Regions from separate parts of the Homo sapiens genome. Here all the other regions are linked to region 6. Evidence: promoter capture Hi-C in 16 types of primary human blood cells and fetal thymus (Javierre and others, 2016). All regions are on one chromosome and are shown on one strand. The core of a region is centred on a gene start or on the middle of the fragment in contact, and the rest is flanking DNA. Distances in the headings are between cores, read along the strand shown.

What was found. The method cuts DNA at HindIII sites, captures the fragments that hold promoters and counts their contacts. A CHiCAGO score of 5 or more calls a contact.
Region 1: a contact is called between a fragment that was not itself captured here and the fragment with the promoter of GABPA in region 6, in 2 of 17 cell types (non-activated CD4 T cells and total CD4 T cells). The highest score is 10.6, in non-activated CD4 T cells.
Region 2: a contact is called between a fragment that was not itself captured here and the fragment with the promoter of GABPA in region 6, in 2 of 17 cell types (non-activated CD4 T cells and naive CD4 T cells). The highest score is 6.1, in non-activated CD4 T cells.
Region 3: a contact is called between a fragment that was not itself captured here and the fragment with the promoter of GABPA in region 6, in 1 of 17 cell types (naive CD8 T cells). The highest score is 5.1, in naive CD8 T cells.
Region 4: a fragment that was not itself captured here is called in contact with the fragment with the promoter of GABPA in region 6 in 13 of 17 cell types (non-activated CD4 T cells, total CD4 T cells, total CD8 T cells and 10 more); the score reaches 28.9 in non-activated CD4 T cells.
Region 5: a fragment that was not itself captured here is called in contact with the fragment with the promoter of GABPA in region 6 in 9 of 17 cell types (total CD4 T cells, non-activated CD4 T cells, naive CD8 T cells and 6 more); the score reaches 16.8 in total CD4 T cells.
Region 7: a fragment that was not itself captured here is called in contact with the fragment with the promoter of GABPA in region 6 in 2 of 17 cell types (total CD4 T cells and naive CD8 T cells); the score reaches 5.3 in total CD4 T cells.

The regions. Positions count from the first base shown.
Region 1 is chr21:28,850,011-28,852,760 of GRCh38, reverse strand. It overlaps a transcript of HEMK2 not described here. Among named protein-coding and RNA genes, the nearest start is that of HEMK2, 34 kb to the left of the region's middle. The HindIII fragment of the contact is 1,451 bases long and covers 747-2,197 here.
Region 2 is chr21:28,898,669-28,901,386 of GRCh38, reverse strand. No RefSeq gene overlaps it. Among named protein-coding and RNA genes, the nearest start is that of HEMK2, 15 kb to the right of the region's middle. The HindIII fragment of the contact is 5,486 bases long and covers 1-2,718 here.
Region 3 is chr21:28,737,732-28,740,431 of GRCh38, reverse strand. It overlaps a transcript of HEMK2 not described here. Among named protein-coding and RNA genes, the nearest start is that of HEMK2, 150 kb to the left of the region's middle. The HindIII fragment of the contact is 2,967 bases long and covers 1-2,700 here.
Region 4 is chr21:28,996,489-28,999,497 of GRCh38, reverse strand. It overlaps the pseudogene RPL23P2. Among named protein-coding and RNA genes, the nearest start is that of LTN1, 5.1 kb to the right of the region's middle. The HindIII fragment of the contact is 3,937 bases long and covers 1-3,009 here.
Region 5 is chr21:28,968,811-28,971,647 of GRCh38, reverse strand. LTN1 (listerin E3 ubiquitin protein ligase 1) reads left to right here. Exons shown (of 30, transcript NM_015565.3): 7 at 204-377; 8 at 906-1,096; 9 at 2,047-2,182. Among named protein-coding and RNA genes, the nearest start is that of LTN1, 23 kb to the left of the region's middle. RefSeq lists a silencer at 2,682-2,837. The HindIII fragment of the contact is 7,647 bases long and covers 1-2,837 here.
Region 6 is chr21:25,733,638-25,736,337 of GRCh38, reverse strand. It overlaps GABPA (GA binding protein transcription factor subunit alpha), which reads right to left and starts at 1,366. Exons shown (of 10, transcript NM_002040.4): 1 at 760-1,366. It overlaps ATP5PF (ATP synthase peripheral stalk subunit F6), which reads left to right and starts at 1,434. Exons shown (of 4, transcript NM_001003703.2): 1 at 1,434-1,485. RefSeq lists silencers at 373-582, 643-782, 1,723-1,822 and enhancers at 1,283-1,402, 1,423-1,532, 959-1,614, 1,933-2,012. The HindIII fragment of the contact is 6,464 bases long and covers 1-2,700 here.
Region 7 is chr21:28,871,875-28,874,785 of GRCh38, reverse strand. HEMK2 (HemK methyltransferase 2, ETF1 glutamine and histone H4 lysine) reads left to right here. Exons shown (of 6, transcript NM_013240.6): 6 at 1-2,595. Among named protein-coding and RNA genes, the nearest start is that of HEMK2, 12 kb to the left of the region's middle. The HindIII fragment of the contact is 4,164 bases long and covers 1-2,911 here.

The DNA of each region.
Region 1 (2,750 bases), core at 223-2,722, 3.1 Mb before region 6:
TCGAGTAAACAAAAGACTAATCTGAATTACAAATACAGGGAATCATGGCCCGTCAATCAATTTCAGTACTTGAACCAGTTTACAGACCTATAACCCCTTGAATGAAGGAGAGGTCGGGTCTTTTTGTGTAAGGACCCCACTACACTACTGACAATTTATGCTGTTAATTCTTTCTCCAATCATTTCCCAAGGACACCTCTAGCTTCTACCAGGGCAACTGTGGATTGGGGAAATGGAAATGATCAGACATTTCAGGGACTACTGGACACTGGCTCTGAGCTGACATTGACTCCAGGGGACACAAAATGTCATTGTCGTTCTCCAGTTAAAGTAGGGGCTTATGGAGGTCAGGTAATTAATGAAGTTTTAGCCCAGGTCTGACTTAAAGTGGGTCCAGTGTGTCCCGGGACTCATCCTGTGGTCACTTCCCCGGTGCCAGAATGCATAATTGGCATAGACATACTTAGCAGCTGGCAGAACCCACACATTGGCTCCCTGACTGATAGGGTGAGGGCTATTATGGTGGAAAAGGTCAAATGGAAGTCATTAGAGCTGCCTCTACCTAGAAAAATAGTAAATCAAAAACAATATCTCATCCCTGGAGGGATTGCAGAGATTAGTGCCACCATCAAGTACTTGAAAGATGCAGGGATGGTGATCGCCACCACATCCCCTTTCAACTCTCCCGTTTGGACTGTACAGAAGACAGATGGATCTTGGACAATGATAGTGGATTATCGTAAGCTTAACTAAGAGGTGACTACAAGTGCAGCTGCTGTACCAGATGTGGTTTCATTGCTTGAGCAAATTAACACATCTCCTGGTACCTGGTATGTACCAGGTACTTGGCAAATAACTTTTTCTCCATTCCTGTCCATAAGGCCAACCAGAAGCAATTTCCCTTCAGCTGGCAAGGCTAGCAGTATACCTTTACTGTCCTACATCAGGGTGTATTAGCTCTCTGACTTTGTGTCATTGTCTTATTTGGAGAGACCTTGATCACTTTTCCCTTCCATAAGATATAACACTGGTCTATTACATTGATGACATTATACTGATTGGATCCAGTGAGTGAGAAGTAGTGAACACACTGGACTTATTGGTGAGACATTTGCATGCCAGAGGATGGAAAATAAATCCAACTAAAATTTAGGGACTTTCTACCTCAGCAAAATTTCTAATGGTTCAGTGATGTGGGGCCTGTCGAGATATTCCTTCTAAGGTAAAAGATAAGTTGCTGCATTTGGCCCCTCCGACAACCAAGAAAAAGGCACAACTCCTAGTGGGCCTATTTGGATTTTGAAGGCAACACATCCCTCATTTAAGTGTGTTACTCTGGCCGATTTATCCAGTGACCTGACAGGCTGCCATTTTTCAGTGGGGTCCAGAACAAGAGAAGGTTCTGCAACAGGTCCAGGCTGCTGTGCAAGCTGTTCTTACACTTGGGCCATATGACCCATCAGATCCAATGGTGCTTGAGGTGTCGGTGGCAGATAGGGATGCCGTTTGGAGCCTTTGGCAGGCCCCTGTAGGTGAAACACAGTGGCAGCCTCTAGGATTTGGAGTAAGGCCCTGCCATCTTCTGCAGATAACTACTCTCCTTTTGAGAAACAGTTCTTGGCCTGTTACTGGGCTTTGGTAGAAACTGAATGTTAGATTATGGGTCATCAAGTCACCATGCGACCTGAACTGCCTATCAAGAACTGGGTGTTTTCTGACCCATCTAGCCATAGGTGGGGTGTGCACAGCATCATTCCGTTATCAGATGGAAGTGGTATATATGCATCTGGGCACAAGTAAGTTACAGGAGGAAGTGGCTCAAATGCCCATGGTCTCCACTCCTGCCACCCTTCCTTCTCTCCCCTTCTCTTCCCCAGCCTGCACTGATAGCTTCTTGGGGAGTTCACTATAATCAATCGATAGAGGAAGAGAAGACAAGGGCCTGGTTAATAAACTCCCCTTAGTAAACTCCCTTTTATATGCACATCTATCCTATTAGTTCTGTCCCTCTAGAGAACCCTGACTAACACAATGGTTTCTGTACTTAAGTGTGTTTTTGTGGTGGCCAGTAATGGTCTTTTGTTCCAATATTTAGCACTCCCTTAAGGACCTTTTGTAAGGCAGGTCTGGTGGTAAGAAATCACCTTAGCATTTGCTTATTTGAAAAAGAGTTTATTTCCCCTTCACTTATGAAGCTTAGTTTGGCTCCATGTAAAATTCTTGGTTGGAATTTCTTTTCCATAAGAATGCTGATCACACCTGTAATCCCAGCACTTTGGGAGGCCGAGGCAGGCGGATCACGAGGTCAGGAGATCGAGACCATCCTGGCTAACACGGTGAAACCCCGTCTCTACTAAAAATACAAAAAATTAGCCGGGCGTGGTGGCGGGCGCCTGTAGTCCCAGCTACTCGGGAGGCTGAGGCAGGAGAATGGCGTGAGCCTGGGAGGTGGAGCTTGCAGTGAGCCGAGATTGCGCCACTGCACTCCAGCCTGGGCGACAGAGAGAGACTCCGTCTCAAAAAAAAAAAAAAAAAAAAAAAAAGAATGCTGAATGTAGGTATTCTGTCTCTTCTGGCTTGTGGGGTTTCTGCTGAAAAGCTGGCTGTTCATCTGACAGGATTTCCTTTGTAGGTGACCTGCCCCTTCTCTGTAGCTGTCTTTAACATTTTTTCTTTCATTTTGACCTTGAGGAATTTGGTGACTACATGTCCTGGAGATCATTGTCTTGCATAGTATCTCACAGGGGTTC
Region 2 (2,718 bases), core at 201-2,700, 3.2 Mb before region 6:
CTTTGTTGTAAACATTGCAAAAGTGTGGATCATGTAGGTTAGAATTGAATTGTTTGGTGAAGTTTTTGTACTTTGTGATTTTCTTGTTTGGTTATGTCTGTGTGTATATATACATATATATATATATATTTTTTCTTTTCTTTTCTTTTTTTTCTTGAGACAGAGTCTCGCTCTGTCACTCAGGCTGGAGTGCAGTGGCACGATCTCGGCTCACTGCAAGCTCCGCCTCCCGGGTTCACGCCATTCTCCTGCCTCAGCCTCCCGAGTAGCTGGGACTACAGGCGCCCGCCACCGCGCCCGGCTAATTTTTTGCTTTTTTTTTTTAGTAGAGACGGGGTTTCACCGTGTTGGCTAGGATGGTCTCGATCTGACCTCGTGATCCACCTGCCTCGGCCTCCCAAAGTGCTGGGATTACAGGCGTGAGCCACCACGCCTGGCCTGTTTTTATATTATATTAACATTTGTGTGTAACAAAGCTGACAGTTCAGTGCTGCAATTTTGGAAGGTAAGATGTGAGAAAGAAGAGAGGCATTTTAGGCACAGAGCTACAGACATTTCTGAAAAGGTTGGTGATGAAGAATTTTGGTCTTCTGAGTATACTTCAGTATTCTAGTACAACAAGGGACACAAAGAGATTCTGTCTTTATAATGAAAGCTGCTCCTTAAGGGTTTAATATGGACTCAGTCCAAGCTGTCCTGTCCCACTGTGCATTGTCTGTGGCATGCAACTTACAAAACTAAAAATTGTAACTATAAATCACAGGCACTTGACAAGAAAGGATATTCATTATCTTCAGTTGGCTTTTGGACCATCAAAACAGTACGGCTTCTGTTCAAAAATCACGTTTAGTCAAAATGTTTTGAAAGCAAATTATTTACTAGCAGAACTTATCTCAGGAAAGAAAAATATGCATAGTTGATGAGAATCTAATAACATTAAAATGCTGGGGCAGGATGCAGTACAAAATTGAAAAGACTTTATTCTCAGTAAGTTGATTTACTGATGATATCTCATACGATGCTACAAAGGTTTTGTGTCATTAACTGAAGAGCAGCAACTTCAGGCCGGGTGCAGTGGCTCACGCCTGTAATCCCAGCAATTTGGGAGGCCGAGGCAGGAGGATCACAAGGTCAAGAGATGGAGACCATCCTGGCCAACATGGTGAAACCCTGTCTCTACTAAAAATACAAAAATTAGCTGGGCGTGGTGGCGTGTGCCTGTAGTCGCACCTACTCGGGAGGCTGAGGCAGGAGAACTGCTTGAACCCAGGAGGCGGAGGTTGCAGTGAGCTGAGATACGCCACTGTGCTCCAGCCTGATGACAGAGCAAGACTCCGTCTCAAAAAAAGAGAAAAGCAGCAGCTTCTCTATCCAGGATGATGAGTCAACGGGTTTCACTAATATTTGTCATGCTGTAGCATTTGTAAGATTTGTAAGTGATGAAATTCAAAGAAAACTTTTTCTATTGCTAGGAGCCTGCCAAAACAAAGGCCAATATACAATGTTGTGATATCATATCTGATAACCAGAGGTCTGTTATCTACACTCCTGGTGCCCCATCAGTGGTTGTCTCCATAAGTCATTTTGCATCATTAAAAAAAAGAAGAAAGAAATCCTGATGTTGACGCTATAGCACACTGCTTTCTTCACAGAGATGCTGATATCAAAAACTTGAAGATACAATGACATTCTGAATAATGCTACAAAACTGGTTACCTGTATCAAAGACCCATTTATGCAAAAATGTTAAAAAAATAAAAACACCCAAAACAAAAACCTGGACAAACAGCGCATAAACCTCCTGTACCATACAGATATCCAGTGGCTTTTCAGAGGAAGAGTTCTCTACAGGACTTTTGAGTTGAAAGGTGAATTGCCAGAGTACTTACAAGAAAATAGCCAGCTTTTGCTGAATGCTTTGGAAATGAAAAATAGCTACAGAAACTAGCCGATTTAGCAGACGATTTTCATCACATGAACAAATGAACAAGTCTCTGAAAGGTCCTGGAGAAAATTTTTTTTCTTAAAGTGACAAGAGTCTTAGATCAAAAAGGAAACTGATTTGCTACCTTGCCAGGGGAATTATTGAAATGTTTCTGCAGCCACTTGGACTTGAAAATGAAGAGTACAACTCTCAAATCTTGCTATAACCCACCTGGAGGAACCACAAAACACAATTAAGTAGTATTTTCTCTCCTTTTCCCAGCACTAGTATATGACTGTATGGGGAACCCTTTCTCCAAATCTGCTCAGCTTGAAATTTTGTCTCTGAAGGAAGAGAATGAACTCAGCCCTAGTCTGACAGTCCTACATTTCTGTGAAATAAGAGTATTCTTCAACTTAGTGCTCACACTCACACACCATGAGGGTTCCCTGCAGGGGTTTCCTGAATTTGAAAGTTTTTTCAAGGCCTATTTTTGGGTAAAATAATTGAAAAAGGCAGACACCAACAAAGTCTGCAAAGTAAACCATCCAGATTAAGAATATTAAGGAGCTGTAAAGTTAGCTTGTGGAAATGGGCTTATCCTTAAGTTTTAAAAAGTTAGGAAGTAGTAAAAACGTTAGGCTTCCTGCACAAGTGGCTATGTTTATTTAATGGCTAGTGAACACGGGAACATATTTCTATCCTCTTAGCTAGTGGTTCTGTTTGGTAAACCAGACTAGAATGATTTGAGAGGGGCAAAGAGAATAGGCAGGACCTTCCTTCTATAGCTTTAC
Region 3 (2,700 bases), core at 39-2,538, 3.0 Mb before region 6:
TGGCCCTCAGGTTTTGACCCACTGTCATTTGAATTCCTGCTTTATGTCAGCTCTCATAGGGAATAAGACATTCCAAAGGGTTACCCACACAATAAAGGACTTTGTCTATGTTCATGTGTTTTGGCCAGTTTGAAAATCTTATTGCGTGGTCTGGGCTACACAAATAGACAAAAGTAAATAGAGAAACCTGCTTCATGGAATAGCTTTGGAAACTGTGGTTGCTAAGATATAGATAGGCTTTAAGTAGAGAGAATTTCCATTATAAATATACTAAAAGGATCAGAAAAGTGAATTTACATGAAAAACATACACTGGGTGTTTGGAAAGTGCTTTTTCTATAGACGGTGTGTAAAACGCATATCAAGGGAACTCTTTGGGGGAAGACAAGAATTTACACAAGGTGTTGGGATGAAAAATATTGCTAACTTGTTTTAATTATTGGCTGAAACTTGATGGAAAGAGGAAAAAATCCTCCAGATGATACAAAGTAGACCTTTCTTCTCATGCTCCATAGAGGTCTTTCGGGAAAAATTTCCCATTTCTACTTATGTTTGGAAAACCTTGGGTGTGTATTTTCACTGTGTATTTAACCTTCTTTCCTGGCTTCTAGAACTGTGCTGTCCAATATGGTAGACACTGGCCATGTGTTGCTTTTGAGCACTTAAAATGTGGCTACTGTCGCTGAAAAACAGAATTGTTAATTTTATTGAATTTTAGTTAATTTAAATTTGAATAGGCACCTAGGGCTAATGGCTATAGGGACAGTACAGATAGAGAACATTTCCATCATCACAGAAAGTTCTGTTTAGACAGCACCCTGCTCTGGAGGGTGACCGGACAGTAATTTTTGCTCATAAGACTTGTTTTTAATATTGAAGATTTAGTTTTCTCCCAACTGATGAAGTTTAGGGAAAAATGCCACGAAGATGGCATTCAGATCTTATTAACATTTTCTCACTACTTATTTTTTCCCTCAGTTCTGAGTAATTCTGTCTATTTTTATCTATACCATATTATATTTAGTTCCTTCTAATGTAATTAAACAAAAATATCTTAATTTCAGAAAACACTTCTTTAATTAGTTGTGTTTGAAATGTCCTTACTAATCCTTACTATAATAACTGAATGGCCAATTTCATAGCCTCAGTGGGAAAAACGAAAAAAGAGAAAGACCTGTGTTCTTGATCTGTGCCAAACAGGAAAATACTGTGGTTCAGCAATAGAAAATGAAGAGGGAGGAAATGTTTCAGGTCATCAAATGGGGTCAGAAATACGCATGTCAATGTACTTTTGCTGCTCTCGCGAATTTCTCAAAAGGGTATCTGTGAATACCTAATTTAGGTTTTTTTGGTTTCATTTTAAGTACACATGAGCTTCTGGAAAGGGCGATATTTATATATTTTTTTCACTGTGGTTTACGATCCAGTGTAGGTATATTTCAGGATGTCACTCACAATTTCAATGTGGTCATAGAATTATTCAGAGAAAGCTAATTGAAAGCAAAATGCATTAAAATGACTAGGATTAAGCTGCCCACGGACACCAACTGTCTTGTTTTGTCCCCATTGTAAACACAAGTGCCCCAGAAGTGCATGTGCTGAAGTTGGCCTCTGTTGAATGAATGCATTTAAATGTGGAAGTTTTTGTATTATTATAGGATAAGAAATGTTGCAATTGCAAAAATGTTGGGGACTAGAGCCATCTCTGGGAGGTTTTCCTAGGACGTAAGCTCTGTTGTTTCGGAGTTCAGGGAGTGGGGCAGTGACCTGCATAAAGAGCCCCCAGGGAGAAGGCCCAGGGTCCTGGCTTCTCCGTGGGACTGTTTCCCGGGTCACAGAAAGGGAGACCCAAGTGTCAGAGATGGGCAGATTGAACTGTCCCTGCCGGTGTTTACAAGAGACACTTGACCTTGATGGAAAGCAGAGGGAGGACAGCAAGAGGGAGACGTTCTCTGTGTCCACATCAGCACCCTTTCCCCCTTCCTTGCCCTTTATCTTGTCTCATCCTTACCTTGTTGGAAAAACACATTGGCAACATCACAGCCCACTCAAAAGGTTGCCAACACCTTCTCCCAATAATAGCGATCAACATATGTAATAGACTTCAGCTGTCTTTTTGGGAGATCTGGCAACAAACTTAACTGAAAAAAGTCAGATTTTTACAAAGAAACACTGCTTTATTGCTTAAATGTGGAAATAATACAGAACACCAGCTAAGCTAATAGCTTTCTGAGAAAGAAAGTTCAAAGTGTCCATTGCTACTTCAATAACACATACATAAGTGGAAGGTGACCAAAAAGATGAACATGTAAAGAGGGGCCCTCATGTGTCGGCAAATTGTTGCTATTCTGAGCTCTCCACTTGCAGCAATTATCTAACTGTTGTTGGAAGAAGCTAAGAAACAATCCTCCAGCCCTCCCATAATGCCCTCTCCAAACAAATGAAAACACAGTGCAATTGGCTTTTCAGTGTTTGCTCCCAACCTGCCCCTTCCTGTGTTTCTCCCTGAACATGATTCTTTACTTCGTAGGTCATCCTCTCATCCTTGCATTCTTTGTGTATATTACTGGCTAGCTGCCAATCAGCAATGGACACCTCCCAGAGTTCTGGCAGACCTGGCTTGTGAAGTTAAGCAGGGCTTGGTGAATTTAGCTCACTTAACTGAGATATGAGAGCAGTGAAGTGATGTATGTAGAGAAAG
Region 4 (3,009 bases), core at 413-2,912, 3.3 Mb before region 6:
AATCTGGCAAGAGAGATTGTGACCCAAGAGTGGGGTGAAATTGGGAAAATTTAAGTATTAATATCAGGATGTGACTGTGGTGTGGTAGATGAAGTGGAATGGAGGAAAAGGATATGAGAGATGAAGATTTTTATAACTGAGAGGCCAAGCAATGGACAGATATGCCACATGAACCTAATTAGGACTTTAAAAAGACCATCCAGGATGATGTTTGGAATGAGGGTGGAGAGCCAAGTGCTAAGTCTTTAGAGACTAAAAGGGAGTGACCAGGAGGCTGGTAAGAGGACAGATGTCAGAAGGTGTATTCTGTTGACAGCAGCCCAAAAACAATGATTTATTGTTTTAAGGAAAGTGGAAGCAAAGAAGATCCTATTCTTATCTGCAGACCCCTGAGGTAGGTAGGATTTTAGACAATAAACAGCACTCATGAGAGGCTGCTATGGAAGCACTGTCATTAGCCAAACTGTAAACACGTGTTGAGGGTGAATATTGGCTCATCACCGAAGCTGCAATTCCAAAGAATATGTGGGAAGAAAGGGCTTTGTAGGGCACATAGGAGTAGGGGTTAGACCAGCAAGAAAGGACACAGTTTTTTTTTGTTTGTTTGTTTTTTTGAGAGGGAGTCTCGCTCTGTCGCCCAGGCTGGAGTGCAGTGGTGCGATCTCGGCTCACTGCAAGCTCCACCTCCCGGGTTCACACCATTCTTCTGCCTCAGCCTCCGGAGTAGCTGGGACTACAGGCGTCCACCACCACGCCCGGCTAATTTTTTGTATTTTTAGTAGAGACGGGGTTTCACCGTGTTAGCCAGGATGGTCTTGATCTCCTGACCTCGTGATCCACCCGCCTCGGCCTCCCAAAGTGCTGGGATTACAGGCATGAGCCACCGTGGAAAGGACACAGTTTTATGTGGTAAGGAAATAATATATACATGTGTCTGTATCTCCTTCCTGCCTTCTTGACTTCCTGAGTCCAGACTCAGTATTACAGTTTCCTTCTAGATTCCGGAAGTCTGTTTTTCATCAGTTTTAATTTTAGTTGTGTTGTTTTTGTCGTCTTCAATGTTTTCATCAATTTTTTTGTGTGTATGTGAATTTGAGAGGGGCTGCTAGCAGATGCTATTTTGAACTGGAAATTCACCTATATATTCCTCTAGTACTATTATGGTTATTTTCTTTTCTTTTAAATCCCTCTGATATAGTTTGGACATTTGTCCCCACCCCAATCTCATGTTGAATTGTGATGAGTTACAGCTGGTATATACTGAAATTATTCTTATTGTACATTTATTTTGTAGTGTTAGCAAACTATTATATCTTATTTTCTCAATTGACTCTCTACAGATCTCAGTTGACAAACAAATGCTCTGCTGGCATATATTACCTATGTAGTGTTGCTGCTATTTAAATAAGAAGTTTGCTTAAAAAGAATTTAAAAATACTTTTTTCCTTCTTTCCAGCGTTCAAGATGTCAAAGCGAGGACGTGGTAGGTCCTCTGGTGTGAAATTCTGGATTTCCTTGGGTCTTCCAGTAGGAGCTGTGATCAACTGCTGACAACACAGGAGCCAAAAACCTGTATATCATCTCCGTGAAGGGGATCAAGGGACAGCGGAACAGACTTTCTGCTGCTAGTGTGGGTGACATGGTGATGGCCACAGTCAAGAAGGGCAAACCAGAGCTCAGAAAAATGGTACATCCAGCAGCGGTCATTAGACAACCAAAGTCATACCGGAGAAAAGATGGTGTGTTTCTTTATTCCGAAGATAATGCAGGGGTCATAGTGAATAATAAAGGCAAAATGAAAGGTTCTGCCATTATAGGACCAGTAGCAAAGGAGTATGCAGACTTGTGGCCCTGGATTGTGTCCAATGCTCGCAGCATTGCATGATTTTCCAGTAGATTAAAAAGAAAAAGAAAAACTTTAAACCCATTAAAAAGTATTTGTACCCCCCCCCAAAAAAATACATCTTAATAACAGTTGAAGGTAAAGTACCACCAAGTTTAATAAAGATTAATTAATGCTGAGTTGTTTTGTTTTGTTTTGAGACGGAGTCTCGCTCTGTTGCCCAGGCTAGAGTGCAGTGGCACGATCTCGGCTCACTGCAAGGTCTGCCTCCTGGGTTCATGCCATTCTCCTGCCTCAGTCTCCCAAGTAGCTGGGACTACAGGCGCCCACTACCATGTCCAGCTAATTTTTTGTATTTTTAGTAGAGATGGGGTTTCACCATGTTAGCCAGGATGGTCTAGATCTCCTGACCTCATGATTCACCCGCCTCGGCCTCCCAAAGTGCTGGGATTACAGGTGTGAGCCACCTGGCCCAGCCGAAATATATTTTTAAGTGCTTGATGTCTGATTTTCCTCCTCAGAAACTTGTCTGGATGGGTAAGATTATTTTAACATCAGACTTCTGTAAGGCATGCCCAATATTTACTTAGGGAAAAAAGGCTATAATTCTGATGTGTAACTCTTAATCTGTGAAAACAAGAATTTATAATATTAATAATTATGAATGAAGAAGGGAGGGTTTCAAGTCTCTTTTTTTTTTTTTTTTTAACTCCCAACCTGGTTTCTGAAGAGTTTCTAATCTTGGCCTTAAAAGTATTGACATTTCTTTTTTCTTTTTTTCTTTTGAGACAGAGTCTTGCTCTGTTGCCCAGGCTGGAGTGCAGTGGTGTGACCTCAGCTCAGTGCAACCTCTGCATCGTGGGTTCAAGTGATTCTCCTGTCTCAGACTCCTGAGTATGTAGGATTACAGGCACGCACCACCACGCCTGGCTAATTTTTGTATTTTTGGTAGAGACAAGTTTTCACCATGTTGGCCAGGCTGGTCTCGAGCTCCTGACTTGAGGTAATCCTCCTGGCTTGGCCTCCCAAAGCATTGGGATTACAGGCGTGAGCCACTGCACCCAGCCGACATTTCTTGACATAAACATTAACATTTTGACAAAAATTAAACATTATTTTTAATGTTCTTCTGTCCAAACCTTTTCTGCCTATCACCTACTGTATTG
Region 5 (2,837 bases), core at 40-2,539, 3.2 Mb before region 6:
TTCTTTCAGCCTTCACTTTTGCCTTGGTAATTCCTTATGCCTTTTCAGCCATTTCATACTCTAAGATTTTAAAAAGTATTTTTTCTAGCTATTTTAGTTTTCTTAGTGGGAGGGTTAGTGTGAATAATCTACTATTACCATAAATTAAAAATCTTATCAAGTTTTACTAGGTTTTAATTTAATTCAGCTTTGCATTCTTTTAGATTCGCTCAGCTTATTTTGAGTTAGTCTCTGCATTGTGCCAGCGCATTCCACAGTTGATGAAAGAGGAAGCATCCAAAGTGAGCCCATCAGTTCTACTTAGCATTGATGACAGTGACCCAATTGTCTGCCCAGCTCTCTGGGAAGCTGTACTCTATACACTTACAACTATTGAGGTATGTAAGAGAGGCACATTTAGTACACTGAGGAATGAACCTATGAGATAAGAATATCCAAAACTTACTGGGAAAATGCTTTCTTGGAAATAAAATAATCTAAACTTGGCATAAATCTTAAAGTGACTAAAATGGCATAGAGTTTTTATTTTATTTTGTTTTGCCAGTATTAATTATTCTTTAAACCTTATGTGTCCTAGTGCAGTCACCATAACTGAATTTTATATTTAAGATGAAATATAATTAAGATTGAAATATAATTGTCCCTTTTAGAAAGCAGCTTTTATAGAAATAGAAGTTAAATAATTATTTCTAATCAATACTTTATTGTAAGCATGTCGAATATATGATCATTATATGTAATACATTTATAATTTCAGTTTTAGTTTTTAATGGTGGTGAAAGATTTTAGCTTTTTTTAGGTAAAATACTTGGTTTTTCTTTTTGAGAGCCTATATGTTTTCTCTTTTAATTGAGAAAAGTATGTTTATGATCTCTAATTACTACTATAATCTTTTGTTTGGTTAGGACTGTTGGCTTCATGTAAATGCAAAAAAGAGTGTGTTTCCCAAGCTATCAACTGTGATTCGTGAAGGTGGTCGGGGTCTAGCTACTGTCATATATCCTTACCTTCTGCCATTCATCAGCAAGCTCCCTCAGTCCATCACAAATCCAAAGTTGGATTTCTTCAAAAATTTCCTCACGTCTCTAGTTGCTGGGTAAGTAATTTAAATTTTTGATTTTTAAAACAAAACAGATTTTCTTGTTTTTATACTCATTTTCTTTCTTACTTAAATTTCTCCAAGTTGTTTTACTATTCATTAAATACTTTTAAAGTTTTCAGAGAATTACAATTGATATTTTTTTCTTGAGTACGTTCAAGACTTCAGTGGTAGCACACAGCAGGAAGTTAGATAAATAAGGTAAAGCTCCTTGTTGGAAATAGGTCAACTAGGCTATTTTTCAAATTAGCCATTTTTTTAACAGCAGAATGTGCTAACCAATTGCACCACAGACACATGTAGCCATTTTTTATTTTTTATGTTGATAAATACAAATGCCTAAATGCAGAAAATTAGCCAGTGAAATTTTTAAAACATCAACAACTTTAACTACTATAGATGTTTAAATTCACACTTAAAAAAACTGTTTCAGTACATTTGTTGAACTTAGAAGATACATCATTTTATTAATGATTACAGATTTTTTTTACTACACCATTATCTTTATTTGGTTAATAAGTTATCTCGAATTTGCAGGTGGATTGGTCCATGAATAGAAAATTAATATCTCGGCTAGGCGTGGTGCCTCACAGCTGTAATCCTAGCACAGGCCAAAGTGGGAGGATTGCTTGAGGCCAGGAGTTCAAGACCAGCCTGGTCAAGATAGTAAGACCCTATTTCTAAAAAAAAAGAAGAAAAAGAAAAAGGAAATATTCTCTTATTTTTATTTTTTACTGATACATTTTTTGAAAAACTTTTTCAAAGTTTTTAAGTTCATATTCTCATTGGGCTATATGTATTTTCATTGGTATTTAATTTGTAGTTTAAGAAACTGCTTTAAAAATGTTTCTTCTGTCATGATGCCTTTTTGAGGTCTTTATTTTGATAATTCTGAGTTCTTGTTTCTTCTTCATGAAAGAGTAATCCAGTTATTAATTATTTCTTAGGCTGTCAACAGAGAGAACTAAAACCAGCTCTTTAGAGTCCTCGGCAGTAATATCTGCTTTTTTTGAATGCTTACGTTTTATAATGCAGCAAAACTTAGGTGAGGAAGAGATTGAACAGATGCTCGTCAATGATCAGGTATCTATAATGTAAAAGTCGTCAGTCTCTTTGCATACTGATTATGTAGGATCAAGCTCATTGTGTCTTGTTGCCATTTACAGTAATAAGCCTTCCTTGTAAAAATTTTATTTTTATAATTTACCAATTGAGTGATGTGTATTTCTGACCAGATAAGTAAAAATTCCATACTCTCAGTTGCTAGCATGGTATGATACCTAAGAAACTAATCAGTGTCTGGATGCAAAAATCCCTTTTTTTTTTGAGACAAAGTTTCGCTCTTTGTTGCCCAGGCTGGAGTACAATGACGCAATCTCAGCTCACTGCAACCTCTGCCTCCCGGGTTCAAGCTATTCTCCTGCCTCAGCCTCCCAAGTAGCTGGGATTACAGGCACCCGCCACCACACCCAGCTAATTTTTGTATTTTTAGTAGAGACGGCGTTTCACCATGTTGGCCAGGCTGGTCGAGAACTGCTGACCTCAGGTGATCTACCCGCCTCGGCTTCACAAAGTGCTGGGATTACAGGTGTGAGCCACCGCGCCCGGCCTGTAAAACCCTGTTTTAGAAAGATGTAGTGCAGGCTGGGCGTCGTGGCTCACGCCTGTAATCCCAGCACTTTGGAAGGCCGAGGTGGGTGGATCACCTGAGGTTGGGGGTTCAAGACCAGCCTGACCA
Region 6 (2,700 bases), core at 117-2,616:
TTGCTCTTCTCACGAGTCAGACCTACTGCTATTAGTGGAAACTACTTATGAAATGAATTTTATTTCTAAATTTCTAATCATCTTGCAATGCAATATTAGGCATTGTCCTCTCGGTCCGCTAACCTGATCAAACTGGGGTCCCTAAATCCAAACACGCACATACAGCGTGTCTTCTAGTACACAAAAAAATTTCCAAGTAGACAACCCATTGTTATCTCCTTGGTTTACTTCCTTGCTTAAAAACAAAAAAACAAACCCAGATGGCTACCATATACGCTGATAAATGATTCTGGTGTGTGTTGTTCTATAAAGAGAGCGGATTTGAAATGAGTGAATCGCTGAGTCCCGCGATGAGACAGGGTCTGCATTTTGCTCTTAAAATCTCGGGGGCGTCAGGACCACATCCCAGCTGAGCAGGCTGAGACTGCTGAGGAGTGCGGACGGGCGAGGAGGGGACGCGGAAAGGAGGGAGCGGCGACAGGCGACCCGTCCGGCACGGGTCCCGGCGGTGCCCGGTCCCCCCGGGCTCCAGGCCGCTCGCCCCCCGCCCCTCCCCTTCGCTCCCCGCACAGCTCTCCCGCCCCTCCCCACCCGGCTCCCTCAAGTCTCCACGAACGGAAATGGGAGTCACAGCGCCGGGGACCAGCGGAAACAAAACACAGAGGCGGCCGCGGGGGGGCCCTTGTGGGGGAAAAGGCCCCGGAACGAGGCCGGCCCGCGAGGGCCCGCGCTCCCCTCCTCCCCGGCGGCCGCACTCACCCACTCCGGAATCGGCCCTGTCGCCCCCGCCCGCACTCCAGAGCCGGCTGAGAACGGCAGCGGCGAGGGCTCCACGTGCAGCGTCTCTCCGGGTAAGACCTGCAGCTCCCGCGACTAGAAGTGTGAGGTCCCAGGGCCCTTCCCGCGGAATCGGCGCTGAGAAGCCCCAACCCCCCTCCCGCCTCCCAGGCACCTTCGGGTCCAGGACTACAACTCCCGGCAGGGTGCGCAAAACGACCGCCCAAGGCAACGGAGGCTCACGAGGTACAAGGAAGCACAACGCCCCAATCCGCTTTGTTTTACACAGTCTCACTTTCCCTGCACCTTTATACACTTCGATAACCCTAACGAACAGGACGCTGACTCGGAGGGGAGCTTGAACTAGGGGAAAGGCCACTCAAAGAGCGCATGCGTACAGAGCAAGGTTTCAAGGAGGGGAAAAAGAACGGGTCAAATTAGGCGAAGAAAAGATGGCGGAGGCTGTGCCAGGGGACCCGGAAGCACTTACCCTCCACTTCCTCCTCCTGTTTGGCTTCTGTCTCACCTAGACCCGTCCGGTCGCAGACTGTCTCCGAGACGCTTCCTGTCCGGTGAGCGTCGACCGACTGAAACGGCGGCCCATAATGCATTGCGATGGCGGGTAGGCGTGTGGGGGCGGAGCCAGGGCCGGAAGTAGAGCGGAGGTGGTGGCGGCGGAGGCTTTGGCAGCTCGGGACTGAGTGCAAGGTGACTGGGAGGGTAGCTAGATCAGCGTGGCCTTTTGGGACTCCAGTTCTGGGTTTTTTCACGAGGCCTGGGCTGCCTCTCACCTTTACTAGGAGGAGAGAGCAGCTCTGTGTCCTGGGGACCTTCACGGCCTGGCCCGGGGTCACAGCTGACCTCTACGTTTGTAGACCTTGGAGTTTGCCGTAGACCCAGAAATAAGATCGATACCCTCTCTGAGGGCAAATCGGGGCGGCGCGGGGGGCAGGGAGGCCCGGGGGTCTCGGGCCCGCAGCCTGGCTGGGGCAACCCAAGGTCAGGCGCGCGGGAGAGATTTTCGGCCAGGCCTACCCGCCCCGGGCGCACGGGAGCGTCTAGGCTACTTAGGCAGAACGTGTACCATTAAGAGGGAAAAAATTAGTCATAATATTGAAAGTTTGCATCCCACCTAAAAACGATGGTGCTAACACTTCATTAGGCGACTTTATGGATTGTTCATAGGAATATGCACTGAAGAGGCAGCGAACCTACTAACCTTTGGCCGGTCAGTCATCACTATAAATAGAACCATGCTCCCACCCAGAACAAGGCCTCTGCTCAGACTAGTGTTTTCTTACTGTTGCCTTCCCCAGTCTTTCTGATCATGTCAGACGCTATCATATGCTCTCGTGGCACCCGATGGTACTGGAATAGAGAATTTATGTCAGGTGGTATTTCACAGCTATTTGTGTAATGACTATCTTCTGCGTTTTAGTGGACAATATGCATTCACTAATCAGTGAAAAAAAATGAAAGGGATTAAAGGAGAAGGAACAAGTTTTGATATGGGATTATGTGTTCGTTTTTTGGATGAGTTCGTAGGACTTATAAGGGAGATGAGAACTGTTGAATGCTGTGGATAGATTTGGGGCTCAGGATGAATACTAAAATTAGAAATGCGATTGGGGAATCATAGGCACTTACATGGTGGATAATTGAAACAATGAAAGTGGATTTTACCCGTGTTGCAGAAGGAGTAACATCTATGCAGTCAGACTTAGAGCAAATTAACTGTGAGAATACGTGCAGCTTAATCTTTCTTAGATACAGTTTTATCATCTGTAAAGCAGGGATAAGAACACTTTAACTCTTTGAGAGTATTGCTGTAAGGGTACAAGGAAAGGATATATATGGAAGTACTTTGCACAGTATCTAGGGCTAAGCAAATGTCGGGTGAACCTATTGCTGAATGTTAAGCAT
Region 7 (2,911 bases), core at 160-2,659, 3.1 Mb before region 6:
GAAAATTGGTGACAAAGAAATTTGGAGATGAAGTATGTGGATAGACACTGAATGGGCAAAAAGGGTGAAGATATTTGTGCCCCATGTGAATGCTCACCAAAGGGTTAGCAAAAAAGGATTTTAATAAAGTGGACAAGATAACCTGTTCTGTGGATACTAGTAGGCCTCTTTCTCCAGCCACACCTGTCATCACCCAATTGTTTCATGAGCAAAGTAGCCATGGTGACAAGAATAGAGGTTATGCATGGGCTCAGCAACGTGGACTTCTACTCACCAAGGCTGACCTGGCCAAGGCTATCTCTGAGTGCCCAGTCTGCCAGCAACAGAGACCAACACTGAGCCCCTGATATGACACCATTCCCCAGGGTCATCAGTCAGTTGCCTAGTGGCAGGTTCATTACATTGATCCACCTCTATCATTGAAGGGATAGTGTTTTATCCTTACTGAAATAGATCTTACTCTGGATACAGATTCACTTTCCCTTCGCGCAGGGTGTCTGCTAAAACTACCATCCGTGGACTTACAGAATGTCTCATCTATGACCATGGTATTCCACACAGCATTACAAGAAACTCAGTTCACAGCAAAAGTGTGGCAGTGGGCCCATGATCATGGAATTTTCTTACCATGTTCCCTACTATCTTGAATCAACTGGCTACATAGAGCAGTGGAATGGCATTTTGAAGACAGTAATAACACCAGCTATATAGCAGTGCCTTGTAGGGCTGGGACAAGGTTCTCTAGAAGACTGTCTATGCTCTGAATCAACATCCAGTATATGGTGCATTTCTCTTATGACTGGGATTCACAGGTCCAGGAATCAAGGGGTCAGAATAGGAAGGACACCATTCGCTATTAGCCCTGGTGACCCACTAGCAAAATTTTTGCTTCCTGTTCCCATGACTTATGCACTGCTGGCCTAGAGGTCTTACATAGGGTGGAATATTTTCCACTGAGAGACGCAATCATGATTTAATTGAACTGGAAGTTTAAGACTGCTCCTCAGCCATTTGGGGCTTCTTATGCCTCTAACTCAATAGACAAATGAGTTACAGTGCTGGCTGGGTGATTGTTCCTGACTACCAAGTAGAAACTGGACTACCCCGAATGGTGGTAAGGTAAAGTATGTTGGGAATACACAGGATTCCTTAGGGCATCTCTTAGTGTTATCATGCCCTGTGATTAAGGTCAATGGAAAACTACAGCCTAATTCAGACAGGACCACTAATGATCCAGACCTTTCAGGAATGAAGGTTTGGGTCACCACCAGGTAAGTACCATGACCAGATGAAGTGCTTGCTGAAGGCAAAGGGAATACAGAATAAATGGTGGAATAAATACTAGCTTTGATCATATGACCAGTTACAGAAACACAGACTGTGATTGTCATAAGTATGTCCTCCATATTTTGCTATAACTACATTTTGTGTGTGTGTAGCTTTGTTTTCTTCTCATTTCCTTATTCTGTAACATAAGATGCATTGATTTTATAGCATAGTGTTTAAATATTGTTAATTTTTTTAACTGGCTCCAGTGTTCAACCTTGATTAATTTTACATCATAGTATTTAAGTTATGGGATATCAAGGAGAGAGTAAACATCACATGAAGACTTTACCACCTCTTCTGGGAAACGGGTTAGAGTGTTTCTGGTGGAATGCTGGATTGTTAATCGTGTTAGATGGAATTATGACCTTGTTGTTGTCTTTATGTGGCAGTTAAGTATGGTTTAAAGAGATGTTTATGGGTGCCAAGTTGACAAGGGTAAACTTGTGATGGTTAATTTTATATGTCAACTTGAATAGGCCACAGGGTGCCAAATATCTGTTTAAACATTATTCTGAAGTGTCTTGAGTGTGTTTACAGACAAGATTTGCATTTGAACTGGGGGACTCAGTAAAGGAGATAGCCATCCCCAAGGTGGGTGGACATCATCCAGTTTGTTGAGGGCGTAAATAAAATAAAAGGCAGAGGAAGGAAGAATTCCCCCCCCTTTTTTTTCCTGCCTCATTGTTTGAGCTGTGACATCTCATCTTCTGTCCTCAGATGGATTTACATCACTGGCTTCCCTGGTTCTCAAGCCTTTGGATTCAGACTGAATTATACCACAGGCCTTCCTGGGTCTCCAGCTTATAGATGACAGATCATGGGACCTCTTAGCCTCCATAATCATGTAAGCCACTTTCTTGTAGTACTGGTAAAAGATATATTAGACCAATCTATAAAACAGCTAGCTATGAAAGAGAAAGGTGACAGGCACAAGCCTAGGCAAATAGAGAAGGGTTCCTGGAGAGCCTCTGACTTGCCTAGGTCATTGTGCACACGTGGCTTGCCTGAATGAACATGCCCACTGTGAAAGATTCCATTTCTCAACACATGTGCAGTAAGGGAAATAAATCAATGTGGCTCAGACTAAGCGCCCACACATGGGGTGGAGCCACGAGGAGTTTGCTCCTTATGCAGGGGAGAAGCCGTGCCTCTTCAGCTCGTGTGTGGTGGCCTGGCATTCAATTTGTGAGGTGTAAAACCTGCATGAAGGACCCCTCTTTTTGTGGAGAGCTTTCCTTTTGCCTAATAAATTCTGCCCTCCTCGCCTTTCAGTGTGTACGCGTGCCTAATTTTTTCTGGTCATGTGATAACCCAAATTTAACTGAACTAAGGAGCAAAAAATCCTGCATCAGCTACATTAATAGCTGATTGTACTAGATTGAGTAGTGTCCCCCCAACAAAATTCGTGTCCAACTGAAACCTGTGAATATGCTCCTATTTGGAATTAGGGACTTTGCAGATGTAATCAAGTTAAGACAAGGTTGTACTTGATTAGGATGGGCCCTAAATCCAATATCTCTTGTGTCCTTGTAAGAACAGGAAAATCTGAACACAGAAACAGAGACATAGGGCCATATGAAGA